2 separate regions of the Homo sapiens genome follow, and region 1 is linked to region 2. Evidence: promoter capture Hi-C in 16 types of primary human blood cells and fetal thymus (Javierre and others, 2016). All regions are on one chromosome and are shown on one strand. The core of a region is centred on a gene start or on the middle of the fragment in contact, and the rest is flanking DNA. Distances in the headings are between cores, read along the strand shown. Region 1 has its middle 34 kb from the start of MIR7702. Region 2 holds the start of LPAR1 (lysophosphatidic acid receptor 1).

Evidence for each region. The method cuts DNA at HindIII sites, captures the fragments that hold promoters and counts their contacts. A CHiCAGO score of 5 or more calls a contact.
Region 1: a fragment that was not itself captured here is called in contact with the fragment with the promoter of LPAR1 in region 2 in 4 of 17 cell types (monocytes, M2 macrophages, M0 macrophages and 1 more); the score reaches 9.6 in monocytes.

The regions. Positions count from the first base shown.
Region 1 is chr9:111,233,635-111,240,330 of GRCh38, reverse strand. No RefSeq gene overlaps it. Among named protein-coding and RNA genes, the nearest start is that of MIR7702, 34 kb to the left of the region's middle. The HindIII fragment of the contact is 553 bases long and covers 4,343-4,895 here.
Region 2 is chr9:111,036,596-111,042,696 of GRCh38, reverse strand. It overlaps LPAR1 (lysophosphatidic acid receptor 1), which reads left to right and starts at 4,227. Exons shown (of 6, transcript NM_001351411.2): 1 at 4,227-4,530. LOC124902248 (a long non-coding RNA gene) reads right to left here and starts at 5,769. Exons shown (of 2, transcript XR_007061732.1): 1 at 4,908-5,769; 2 at 1-3,242. RefSeq lists a silencer at 4,458-4,797. The HindIII fragment of the contact is 5,735 bases long and covers 658-6,101 here.

The DNA.
Region 1 (6,696 bases), core at 3,370-5,869, 200 kb before region 2:
TGGTGGTGCTCACCTAGTGCTGCTTGACTAGGACTACAGTCAGTAGTAGAAAGGAGGCTGAAATAAGAGGATCCCTTGAGCCTAGAAGTCTGAAGCTGCAGTGAGCTATGATTGAGCCACTGTACTCCAGCCAGGGCAACAGAGTGGAGGCCCTTACTCCAATTAAAAAAAAAAAAAAAGTAAAGATGATAATGTCTCATTTTTTGAATTTTTAAAATATGTCAATATGTGTTTAGGGGCAAAAAGTAGTGCAAGAGAAAATGGTCACCAAAATATTAATGATTATTTCTAGTTGGTTTTCAGATGATTTTTTCTATATAATTTTATGTATTGTTCCAATTCATTGTAATGGTAACTTATTGTTTGTAAATCATGAAAAACTGTTTTTGTTGTAAAAACTTACTCTCAACTTCTGTAATGCAAAAAATGCTATAAATTAGATAAAAAGTGAAAGACCAATTGGCAGTGTCTTTTTGTTACATATACAGCAAATTAATCTCTTTGATACACAAAGAGCTTTTAAATAAATCCACCAAAACCAGTTGAAAACATCAACATAATTGAGGTAAAGATCATCAACTGGCAAGAAATAAAATTAAAATTAGAGTTCATTTTTTCTACTTAGCATATTGGTAAAGATTAAAAAGTTTGAAAATACAAAATATATTTGAAGATGTAGAAAACCAGGCATAAAATATAAATTGGTGTGACTTTTTAGGAGTCATTTCATATTTTCAAACATTTCAATGTAAATTTTGACCCAGTATTTTAACTTCTAACAATGTATTCTATAAAAATAATTGGACACCGGGGCCTGTCGCGGGGTGGAGGCCTGGGAGAGGGGTAGCATTAGGAGAAATACCTAATGTAAATGACGAGTTCATGGGTGCAGCAAACCAACATGGCACGTGTATACCTATGTAAAAACCTGCACGTTGTGCACATGTACCCTAGAACCTAAAGTATAATTTAAAAAATTGGATAAATATAAAAAGATAGTAGTATAAGGATGTTGACTGTAACATTTGTGCATACGTAAGTGTCAGCAAAACTAACTAGAAACAACTTGCATAGTCTGTCTCAACATGGCACTGATTGAATAATGTACAATCATCCCTCGGTGCCCGTGGGGGATCAGTTCTTGGACCTCTTGAGGATACCAAAATCCAAGAAAATTCAAGTCCTTTATATAAAATGGTGTAGTATTTGCACACAACCCACACACATCGTCCTGTATGCTTTAAATCACCTTTAGATTACTTGTAATACCCAATACAATGTAAATGCTGTGTAAATAGTTGTATTATTTAGGGAATAGTGATGAAGAAAAAAAGTCTGCACATATTCACTACAGGTACAATCCATTCTTTTCCCTGAAAAATTTTTGATCCAAAATTGGTTGAATCCATGGGTGCAGAACACAAGGAAACAGACAGCCAATTGTATTTCATAAAATGAAATTTCATATAATAACTAAAAAATGAGACTGATTTCTGTATACTACATACTGATTTGAAAAGACTTTCCTGATGTGTTGATAACTGAAAGCAAGTTTCAGGTTTGCTCTTATGCACTTAATGTTATGTGATATATGCCATTGGGTAGAAAAAAATATGTGCTTATATAAGTACAGACAACTTCTGGGAGGATACAGAAGAAACTGTTAATAGTGATTATCTTCTGAGAACCAGACTTAAGTAAGTGAAAGAAGGAGTGGAGTTTACTTTTCACTCTATCCCTTTTCATACTTTTGGAATCCCCTACTCCCAATATTTTATTATAAGAAGCTTCAAACATACAGAAAGTTTAACAACTGTATGGTGAACACAGGAATTAAAAATAAATTTGCCAGGCCTGGTGTGGTGGCTCATGCCTATAATCCCAGCGCTTTGGGAGATAGAGAAGGGAGGATTGCTCGAGCCCAGGAGTTGGAGACCAGCCTGGGGAAGATAGTGAGACCTTGTCTCTCCCAATAAACAAACAAACAAACCACCTAGATGTTACAATTAACATTTTGCTATCCTTGCTTTATCACTAAATTTCAAAAAGCAAGATGATGAATTATTTTAAAAATATACCTAGCGGCCAGGCACAGTGGCTCACACCTGTAATCCCAGCACTTTGGGAGGCCGAGGCAGGTGGATCACCTGAGGTCAGGGGTTTGAGACCAGTCTGGCCAACATAGTGCAACGCTGTGTCTACTAAAAATACACAAAATTAGCTGGGCGTGGTGGCGGGTGCCTGTAATCCCAGCTACTAGGGAGGCTGAGGCTGGAGAATCACTTGAACCCAGGAGGCAGAGGTGGCAGTTAGCCAAGATCAAGCCATTGCACTCCAGCCTGGGCAACAAGAGCGAAACTCCATCTCAAAAAATAAATAAATATATGTGTGTGTGTGTGTGTGTGTGTGTGTGTGTGTGTGTATATATATACACACACACACACACTTAGCAAGAAAAGCATTAGCAAGAGCATAGAATAATGAAACAATAAAATAAAGTACATAAATCTGCTGAAAGAGAAAATTAAATAGGATAATGTGATAAATGTCAGCAGCTGTTAGAAGTACAAGCCCAGTGTGCAGGTCTATGCAAGAGCAAAGAAAAGGAGGCTCTGAAGCATATAGGAGGAGTTTCTGTCCTGCAGTTTCTCAGGCCTGTGGTCAAGGGAGGATGTTCCCAGAACAGGAAACCTCAGAACAGGTAGCTTTTGGCCCCATGAGAGGTTTGTGGCTGATACATGCAGTGTGGTCTCTGGACCTCTAAGCCTCTGCTTCATCAGGAAGATTTGCTGAAATGCGTTTGACCCCCAGGAGCCCTTACCTTAGCTCTCATAAAAGTGTTGCAAATCAGTTTGGATTTGGATAATGCCTAAAACAGGAGAGTTGTTTTGTTTTGTTTGTTTGTTTTTAAAAAAATTCCTAGTTATTTAACACTGAGCTATTCCTTTGTATGTAAACCTTCAATTAAAAGAAAATAGTTGGGATCCAGAAATCTAAATTTCTGAATTCTGAAATCTGAATTTTTAACAAGCACCCAAGGTGATTTCATTGCAGGCAGGTGTTGCAAATACGGTCATTTTCTAAGAATGTGGTCTATTTGGGCCTCATGAAGATCCACCTGCTCCAGGAGTCTACAACCTTGCTTTGCCAGGAATGCCTTTCTTCTCAGACAGCTAGTACTTATCTTCTAAATGAGCTTAATTACTAAATCCCTAAGGGTGTTGAACATCAAGGACTTTATCTCTTGGTGTAGATAAATTAGCTCACTGAAGTGTTGTACACCAGTTTGGACCTGGGAGGGGTCTAGAGAGAGGAAATTATTATTATTTGATACATAACATTTGTACATATTTAGGGCATACAGATGATGTTTCATTACATGTGTAGAATGAGTAATGATTAAGTCACGATATTCAGAGTATCCATCACTTGAAGTATTTATCATTTCTATATGTTGGAAACATCTCAAATCCTCTCATCTAGCTGTTTTGAAAAACACAGTATATTGTTGGTAGCTATGATTATTTTTAACTTCTTTGTTATTTAACATTGCTGCTATGCCCCTTTGTGTAAACCTTCATATGGGCATTTAATACCATCTTCTTTAACCCCTGGTTCACTGGGGTCTTCCAGATACATGCGGTTTAATTCTTCACTTTTCTAAGGGAGAAAAGTCTGCAAATCTTTTTTCCTAGTGTTTTCCTTTGGAAGCTTCGTCCCACTGTTATCACAGAGTATTTGAATTCTCATCAGTTTCCTTGTAACTTCTGTGGAATGTGCTGGTAGAACTGCAGCTGTTAGTCCTTGTACTTAGAACAGGTTTTCTTCCCCTGAAGGATTAATAAGGAGGCCAACTATTTGCAGTTGCTTCTACCCCATCTCTGACAGTTCTTTAACCCCCTGACAAGGAAGGATCTCAGAATTTCTCATTCCTTCTCAGGGTGACAATTGTTGTGAATTCTTCCTTGTCTATTCTTTTTACCTCCTCTTTTTCCATTTTAGCCTTTCAATTTGAGTTGGATTTATTTCTATGGTGGTCTATCACCTAACAGAAAACGTGGTGCACCAAGTAATGAGTAACTTAGTTTTTATTATGTTTTAAAAAATACAATAAACATTTTTTGAGCACTTTCTGTGCACTAGGCATTTGCTAAATGCTGGTGACATGGGTGAGAAAGTGGGGACAGAGGCAGCCAAGTCTCTGAAGAATCTTGACACATCCAGTTTGAGAACATCCCATCTAACAAGAAACAGCGTAAGAAAAAGCCTGGAAGTAAATTTGTAGGATGGAGACAATTCAGGTATGCTCGGGATCCAGGGTACCTGGTGAGAAATAAAAGCTTCTTTTCAGACTTGAGAGCTGGGTCAAAAATCTGAATATTACCCAATAGGAAATTATTCGTTAACCTGCTTTTAAAAGTTAAGCTATGGAGAACTCGTTCTCATGCAAAAGCACAATTATACATGATATGATGCTTCTATTTTCTTTTATAGTCAGTTTAGACAGGGAAGTGTGGGAAGGGGTGGAGATGATAAAAGAAAAAGGGAAATAAGTTCAGATTGAAAGATGGTCAGAAAATAGGAGGTATCAGCAAAGAGAAAGCTACATAGAGAAAAAGGTTGACAGATATGTTTCTTAGGGGTCTAGAACAGCATCTGGCACATAGCAGGTGCTTATGAAATGCAGTCATGTGCTGCATGACGTTGTGGTTAATGATGGTCCATGTATACTATGGTGGTCCCATAAGATTATAACAGAACTGAAAATCCCTATTGCCTAGTGACATTGTAGCCATCTTAACATGTATGCCTAGGCTAATGTTTGTATTTGTGTCTTGGTAGTTATGAAAAAAGTTTTAACAGTTAAAAAAAAAAGTTAAAAATAGAAGAAAGCTTATAGAACAAAGAAATATTTTTGTACAACTATACAAAGTGTTTTAAGCTGTGTTATTACAAGAATTGAAAAATATTAAAAAGCTTAAAGTAAAAAATGTTACAGTAAGCTAAGGGTAATTATTGAAGAAAAAAATTAAATAAATGTAATATAGCCTAAGGGTACAATGTTCATAAAGTCTGCAGCAGTGTGCAGTAACGTCCTGAGCCCTCACATTCACTCACTCAGTCACCCAGAGCAACTTCCAGCCCTGCGAGCTTTATTCATGGTAAGTACCCTAGACAAACCATTTTAAATCATTTATACCATCTATTTTTTGTTGTATTTCTTCTACGTTTACAGAAGTTTAAATGCACAAATACCATTGTGTTACAAACGCTTACAGTGTTCATTACAGTAACATGCTGTACAGGTTTGTAGCCTAGGAGCAAAAGACTCTACCATATATCCCATATGTGTAGTGGGCTATGCCATCTAGGTTTGTGGGAGTACACTTGATGATGTCCACACAACTTTCATCGGTGCCTAGCAACACATTTCTCTGAACATATCTTCATGGGTAAGCGACACATGGCTGTAGTTATTAAAGGAAAGAAATCTTATGGAGAGAAAGATAATAAAAGGGAAATAGATGGACATGCACAGGTGTATAAAGAAAAAAATGTTGAGAGAGACAACTAATGCAGATAGAAATACATACAAAAAGGAGGACATAGGGAAAGAAGGGATTGGGACTCAGGGAGGCTCATACATTTATACCAAGTACTATTGAGCAAATAATTCTTTTTATGTTCTGTGTCTTAGACACTGTGTGGAGTATGTGATGTGGACCTGGGGAGAGTCATTCAACCTTTTTGTGTTTATTTTAAAAAAATTCTGAAAGGAAATGGAATCAAATACAGTATTGTAAAATGTTGAGAAGAGCTGGGGGGTACTTGGGATTTTTGCTTTGCTAGTCTCTATATAATGTATGTTTGAAACTTTTCATAATACAAACTAAAAAAAATTTTAGAATGATTAATAATTGAGCATGGGCCCATTTAGGCCCCATTCCCTTGCACAAAGTCCCTAGAGTTAGAATTGTCAAGGTCTGGCAACAGATGGTATGTGGAAGGCAAATGGGAGAAGGTCGTGTTCACTCCAAATGTTGGTGCCCTGCTGATTAAGAGGATGATTATTCCTCATGAATTGCAGGTTTTGGAAGAAAGCTAAGTAGTTCATTTCTATTTTCCCTGATAGGGTCTCACTCTGTTGCCCAGGCTGAAGTGCTGTGGTGCGATCTCCTCTTACTGCAGGCTTGACCTCACAGGCTCAAGTGACTCTCCCCACTCAGCCTTCCAAGGAACTGGGATCACAGGCATGCACCACCATACTTGGCTAATTTTTGTATTTTTTGTAGAGACAGGGTCTCACTATGTTGCCGAGGCTGGTCTTGAACTGTTGGGGCTCAAATGATCCTCCCCACTTGGCCTTTCAAAGCGCTGGAATTACAGGTGTGAGCCACAGCGCCTGGCCGGAAGATTTTTTTATTAATGTTGGGGGAATTCTCAAGGAAATATTTGTAGACCAAAGGAAGTTTGTTCCTTATAGAATTGGGGTTTTACCAGGCACAGTGGAGAGGCTCAGAGAGAGAGAGGGGGGCCTGGGTGGGGAGCTAGAAGACAGGGCTGGGGGCTGTGGCTTCTGGTTTTCAACAGTGAAGAAGGACGAAGTTTGGATGGAAGCCCAGACCGAGGGTGTGGCCAGGATAACAGCTGAATTGGTTGAATTATCCAGCACAAAATTCCTGGTGGAATGTTGAT
Region 2 (6,101 bases), core at 2,978-5,477:
ATTTTTAGCTTTATAGTTGTATATATAACACACATATATTTTTTTCCTTTTCCTTGTCTTTCTTCACTCTGTTTTAGATCTAAGCCTTTTTTATTTTGGATGAGGGAGACTACAGAGAAAGGATCTGCTAGCCTTGACCTACTTCTGATGTTACCCAGAGTATTCATGCAGATGTATGTGATAAGAAAAAGGTGAACACAGAGTTACTCTGTTTGGGGCTTTCATTGCAGCCTAGTCCTTGCAGGAGGCTGCTGCATGCAAACCCAAATTCTCTCCATTCTTGGAATCTCCTTATGCCACCTGCACTCTGAAGAGTGTTATTATTATTACTTTTTACTAAATTGGGCTGCCCCACCCACCTTTGCCGCTGGACTTTTAAAATAGAAAGGTTTCCTAAGGAGAATGCTTTTTTTTCCCCCCTAGCCAAGGGGAAAAACACTGGAGAGGCACAAATACCCCATTTCAAGGAGGAAGAAAACTATGCCTGGAGGCATCATCTGCAAAACTTTCCGGAAAAGGCTGAGTTCTCTCAGGGTATTGTTTCACCAAAATACTGTCTTTGAATCAGTCTCTACCTTAATAGACTGGAGGGAAAGTTTCCAACAGATCGTTTTGCTGATAGTTTTGATTACTCTCGAACAGAAAATTTCAAAAGCTTTTTGCCAGAGGGAAGCGAACAGAGGGAGGAAGAGAGAACTCTTCCATGAGTGTGCCATGACTGGGGAACCTTTTGAACAAATAATAGTGCCAAAGGCAGTGACAGCCAATTTTTCCACCCGAAATGCTTCTCAAATTATAGTCCTTGGATCACTAGCTTATATCAATAGTCTGACAAAGTCTATGGTGTCCTTCCAGATATTAATGTAAAACCTGAACTTGAAATATCCATCACAATGTTTCATTTTGCTGAACTTTTTCTGAGACACAGTCTTGTTCTGTTGCCCAGGCTGGAGTGCAGTGGTGCAATCTTGGCTCACTGCAACCTCTCTCTCCCAAGTTCAAGAGATTCTTATGCCTCAGCCTCCCAACAGCTGGGACTACAGGCATGCACCACCATGCCGGCTAATTTTTATATTTTTAGTAGAGACAGGGTTTTAGTAGAGACAGACATGTTGGCCAGGCTGGTCTCAAACTCTTGGCCTCAAGCGATCTGCCCACCTTGGCCTCCCAAGGTGCTGGGATTACAGGTGTGAGCCACCATGCCTGGCTTCATTTTGCTGAACATACATATATATTTAAAAATTTTAAAACTTTTTAAGAGACAGGGCCTGGCTGTTGCCCAGGCTGGAGTGCAGTGGCACAATGGCAGCTCACTGCAGCTTCGAACTCCTGGGCTCAAGCGCTCCTCTCGCCTCAGCCTCCCAAAATGCTGGGATTACAAGCATGAGCCACTGTGGCTAAGAATATTTTTTGTCATGTTTGACAGCGCCAGCTGTCTTTGGGTCTTTACCTCTGCTGAAGTCATTTGAAGAAACAAATCTAAAGAAATACTGCTTGGCAGAGGGGAGGAGAGAAAGGTTAGGACAGAAAGCATCAGGATGACTCTCCAAGAAAGGGAATGTCTGAATGACAAGAGGACTACAGACAGGAGAAAACATTCAAGAAAATTTATCAAGGTATTCTTTGTTCCTGTTGAAACCTCATCATCAATGTTAGTGTCTTCAGAAGCCCACCCAAATATATTATTTTACTTTGATAAAAGACAACTTGGAACCATATAAAAGACTGCACTGGTACCATTATTCCATTTTACAGATGAGAAAAGTAGCTCATTTGGAACATAATGAGCTAGGTTTTATGGATTAATCTAGATGCTGAACTGAATTCTGTATTGTATTTCATTTTCTCTGTCCTTTTCTACTGGATGTACATACCTACATTTAATTTTAGAGTTATCGATCTAAAGCTGGCTGCAGAAGCTGTCTCATTTAGACAGGTCCACGCTTGTCAGGAAGACAGGTCTGTCCAGGCAGACCTTTCAGTTTGTTCTATATTTCATTTCAGGCCACAGCAGACCAAATAAAGAGGAAATGAAGTGTTTTATAGCAAATAACTTACTGTTGAATACACATGTCTTGTACGGACAGGCCTCCCAATTTGATGTTAGAAGGGGCCACAGAGTAGTTAAGATAGTCAAAACAGAAGCAACTGTATTCCTTAAGAAGGTAAGAGACAAAATCAACATATTAAAAATATTCAAGTTGAGTGGTAGGTAAGAAACTCCTTTTACTTTACCTTTGATTTATGGGGAAAGGCTAAACATGGAAATAATTAATTTTAAAATGTCTTTATATTAGATATAGAAGTATTGGTGTTAAGAAATCTGATAGTAAGTACAGTGTATAGGAAGAAAGAGACGGGAAAATTAGCTAATAAGTGATTTTTTGACTTGAGTAGAGCTATGGTTAAAAATATATGGAAACCTCTTTCGAGTATATTTTTTTCTTACCAATATATACTTTTTATGATACTGAGATTTTATAGTGAACATTTGCCTATTCATCCCAATATAATATTTCTTATAGTTTGGTATCAACCCCTATGATTATTTGTGAGATAAGGGAGTGGTTTGTATTCATGGGTATACATATCTATACACATTTCTGCATGCCGTACACAAACATAAGTAGCATTGTGCATGAACATATTAGCACTGTGCATGTACTAAAATTTCAATTTTTTCACATAGTAGGTTATAAAATAAATCATATATTCGTAGGAAAGGTATAGAAAGCAAAGTTATTTAAAGTGGATTTTTAAAAAAGATTTGAATGATTTTTTTTAAAAAAAAGATTAGAACCATTGTTTTTAAAAGGAAACAGCTTTAGATAGTAAATTATTTACAGCCAGGACTCAGCCCTGAGCATCCTGTGAAAACCACACGAGCTTGGTCAAGGTTCTAAGCAGTCACCGGTGGGAGATGGTCATGGTCCCGTCACAGCATAACTCACTTGAGGCTTGAAAAGTTTCCGTCCAGCTACGGTTTGCAGTGACCTTTCTCTTCTGCAAAGCCCACGGTTACCTGGTGGCCACCACCAACATAGCCCCGCCTCGCTGTCCTGCGTTTCTCTCAATCAGATCAGTCCTGCCGAGTCCCCATGCCTTACTGCTGGTGTGCTGTGTCCTCTGTGCCATTTCAAGGCGAGGGCTCATGAAACTTTTACTCACACGCTGCTATTTTTGATATGCGGTGGCCTTAGCTGTGGAGCGAGAGGCCGATAATTGTGATCACTCCGGAAATCCTGGGAAGCCAGAAGTGGGAGATGGGTGTTGTGAGGTGGCGTGGCTAGGGAGACCCCATCGAGTGGGTGTGTTATAAGACCTGGGCGAATCCCTGTGGCTGCCACTCTCCTGAGAATGTTCCCTAGGCCTTAGTCCCGCGCCGCTCCCACCCACACCTCCAGGTGTGCAGTCCCCGCCCTTAATTACTCTCACTAAAATTGATAGTTTACACTTGCAAAGCTACACTGGGAAAGCGGAAGAGAAATTTATAATCGTGGATATGGAGAACTAGGGGAGCAGACACACTTGCTTTCGTTTACAGATCCAGTGAAGTGAAAAATCAGAACTAGAAACGTATGCACCTTCCTAGCAGCAAAGCCGCTTCTGCGTTCTTCGCAGCCTCCAGTGCAGGGCGGCGCTGGGAGAAACTTTGCGCCTTCTGGAAAGTTTAGAAAGTGAGCCACGAAAGAGAGGCCACATTTCCGGGGTTTTGCGGGCCCCGCGATGTTTTCCAGAGCTTTTCGAGTGGGAAGAGGAGAGCGACAACGTGAAAATGCCCCGTGCCGGGGCGTCCACCGGAGTCCTGCCAGCTGTCCGGCGCTGGGGTAAGCGCAGGAGGGGCGGGGGTGGGACCCGAGCTGGCGGCCACGGGTCTCCCGCTGCGGGTGTGTCGACTCGGGGGCGGGGCGGGGGAGGCTGCTGAGATAATGAATGGGAGGCTAAGGCCACCCCCCAGCCCCGGCCCTGCCACCACCGTGGGCTGTCGAGCCAATGAATGGAGGAGGGGGCGCAGAGGTCAGGGGCGCTGGGGGCGCCACACCAGGTAAGGGGTCCAGCTTGGGAGCGGGGAGGGCGGACTCTGGGGGTTCGGGTGTTGCTGACTTGTGCTACGTGGAACAAGCAGAAAAGAAGGAAGGCGGAGGAAGAGAGGAGGCTGGCGTCGGCGCTGCTCCTCTGGCCCTCCCTCTGCGCCCCCTCCTCCTGCCAGCGCGCCAAAGCCGGGCAGTAGGGGCCGACTGGCGGCTGACGCTCCCTGAGTGGCGACTCCGTCTCCAGCCCCGCTGCGGAGCGCGGGCCGGATCTGGGGCGGCCAGGGCCCGGAGCCGCGGAGCCCTCCCCGCCGCCCGGCCGAGCACGGGACCCCGGCGGGGTGGGCGCAGGGGGCGGCCCCGCTCTGGGCGACTGCCGAGGGGCGGGCGGAGGGCCGGGCTCGGCTGGCGGTGGGGCGGGGGCCGCCGGGACTGGGCGCGCGGCCTGAAGCCAGCCCGGGGGCGGCAGGAGAGGGACGCGCGGCGGCAGCGAGCGCAGGTAAGGGGGCCGGCGCGGCGTGTGGGGACGGCGCCCCCTGGGCGCGAAGCCAGAGGCCGCGGCGACTGCTCGGCCCGCCACACGGCGCGCTGGGCTCACACTGTCCCGCCGCGGACGGGCTTTGTGGTTGGGGGCGCGCGTGCGAGTGCCAGTGAGAGTGTGGGTGCGCGCTGTGGGCCGCGGCGCGGGTGGGTGGCCGTGCGTTCTTGCGAGCCGGCCTGCAGGAGGCGAGGCTCCCCTGGCCTCCCGCACCCAGCGGCGGACCGAGCCCCTGGAGGGAAGTTGCCGCAGCCGCCCGGGCCGCCGGCCCTCCTGTCCCGCGCCAGGTCAGTGCGCCCCGGGGCCCGCCCAGTGACACGTAGGTGGCCTCCGGTTACCTGGGTCGGGGTGGGTGCGCGGGAGGGCTTGCGAGGGGCCCTCGAAATTCTCCCAAAACCTCGTCCCGCTGGACTTGCACCTCCGAGGGGTCCCTGCGCCCCTGGGGCTCCGCACCTCTCGCTTCCCACTGACGACTCGGTTGTCCCCCACCACCGGGCTGAGGACTTTTAACTAAGTTTCTGTCCAGCCGCCTAACAAACGTGCTTAACAAGTAACAGGAGGTTGTAAGGCAAGGGAGGGACCTGGCTTTGAAAGTTGATGGTTTTGAAATCGACGGCTCCTTTGACTTGCGTAGGACTCCTTTGTGGTGAATGGATTTAAAGTTTATTCTTGTTTTTCTTTGCTGCCATTTGGTCTTTGCAATGTTAAGAGTGAAGGCATTCAGGACTTGCTGCTGCCTGCTGTCTGGGGCCTGAGGTTGTGGCTCTCCGCTTCTGCTCTCCTCTCTTCATTTTTGTTGAAATCCGTGGATTTTTTCATAAATGTGGGTGCTGGCTTGTTTCACTATGGACGCGTCGTTTCCTATGGGGTTAGATAGATATTGGTAAACATAAATATTGAAAATGTGATGATCACATATTGATGATCACAGCGAAATCCTCTATTCCTTCAGGCTCTAACAGTTTGTTTTTCACGTATTTGCATAAGTGTGTTTGCTCAGCTAAGCATAATTGGTAAGCCAGAGGTCTGTGATTCAGAGTCTGCAGTTCTGGTTAAGGGGAGACTGTACACTTGGAAAATGCGAAGTTTTTTAAGAAGTTATTCCCTTGCCGGATAGAAGAGTGGGTCCCAAGGAAAAAGGGTGTATTTTAGAGGTATGGTTATTTGAACCAAACTAAACATCATTAAAATACACAGGGAGGTAGAATGTCACCTAGTTCTTTCTGCCCTTGATTTCCATATCCCAGTAGGAGCGAGTATAATTGCCCCAAATGCAAAATTATGAATAATAATCAGCATTGTAAGTATATTAAGGTTGCATTTTTTTCTTGATACTTGTCTGATTTGAGGATAAAAACACCAAGTGGCAAGAGAAGGAGGTAGCTTGAGGCAGGAAGGCACGGGCGAGGAGCGAGGAGGGAAGGCTGGGTTGTCATCATCCGAGCCCGCAAGGTACACCACGTCCCCTAGCGGCGCGACCTCAGCCAGTCGGGTCAGCTCAGATCCTGGTCTCCGTCTCCCCATCCGGAAAA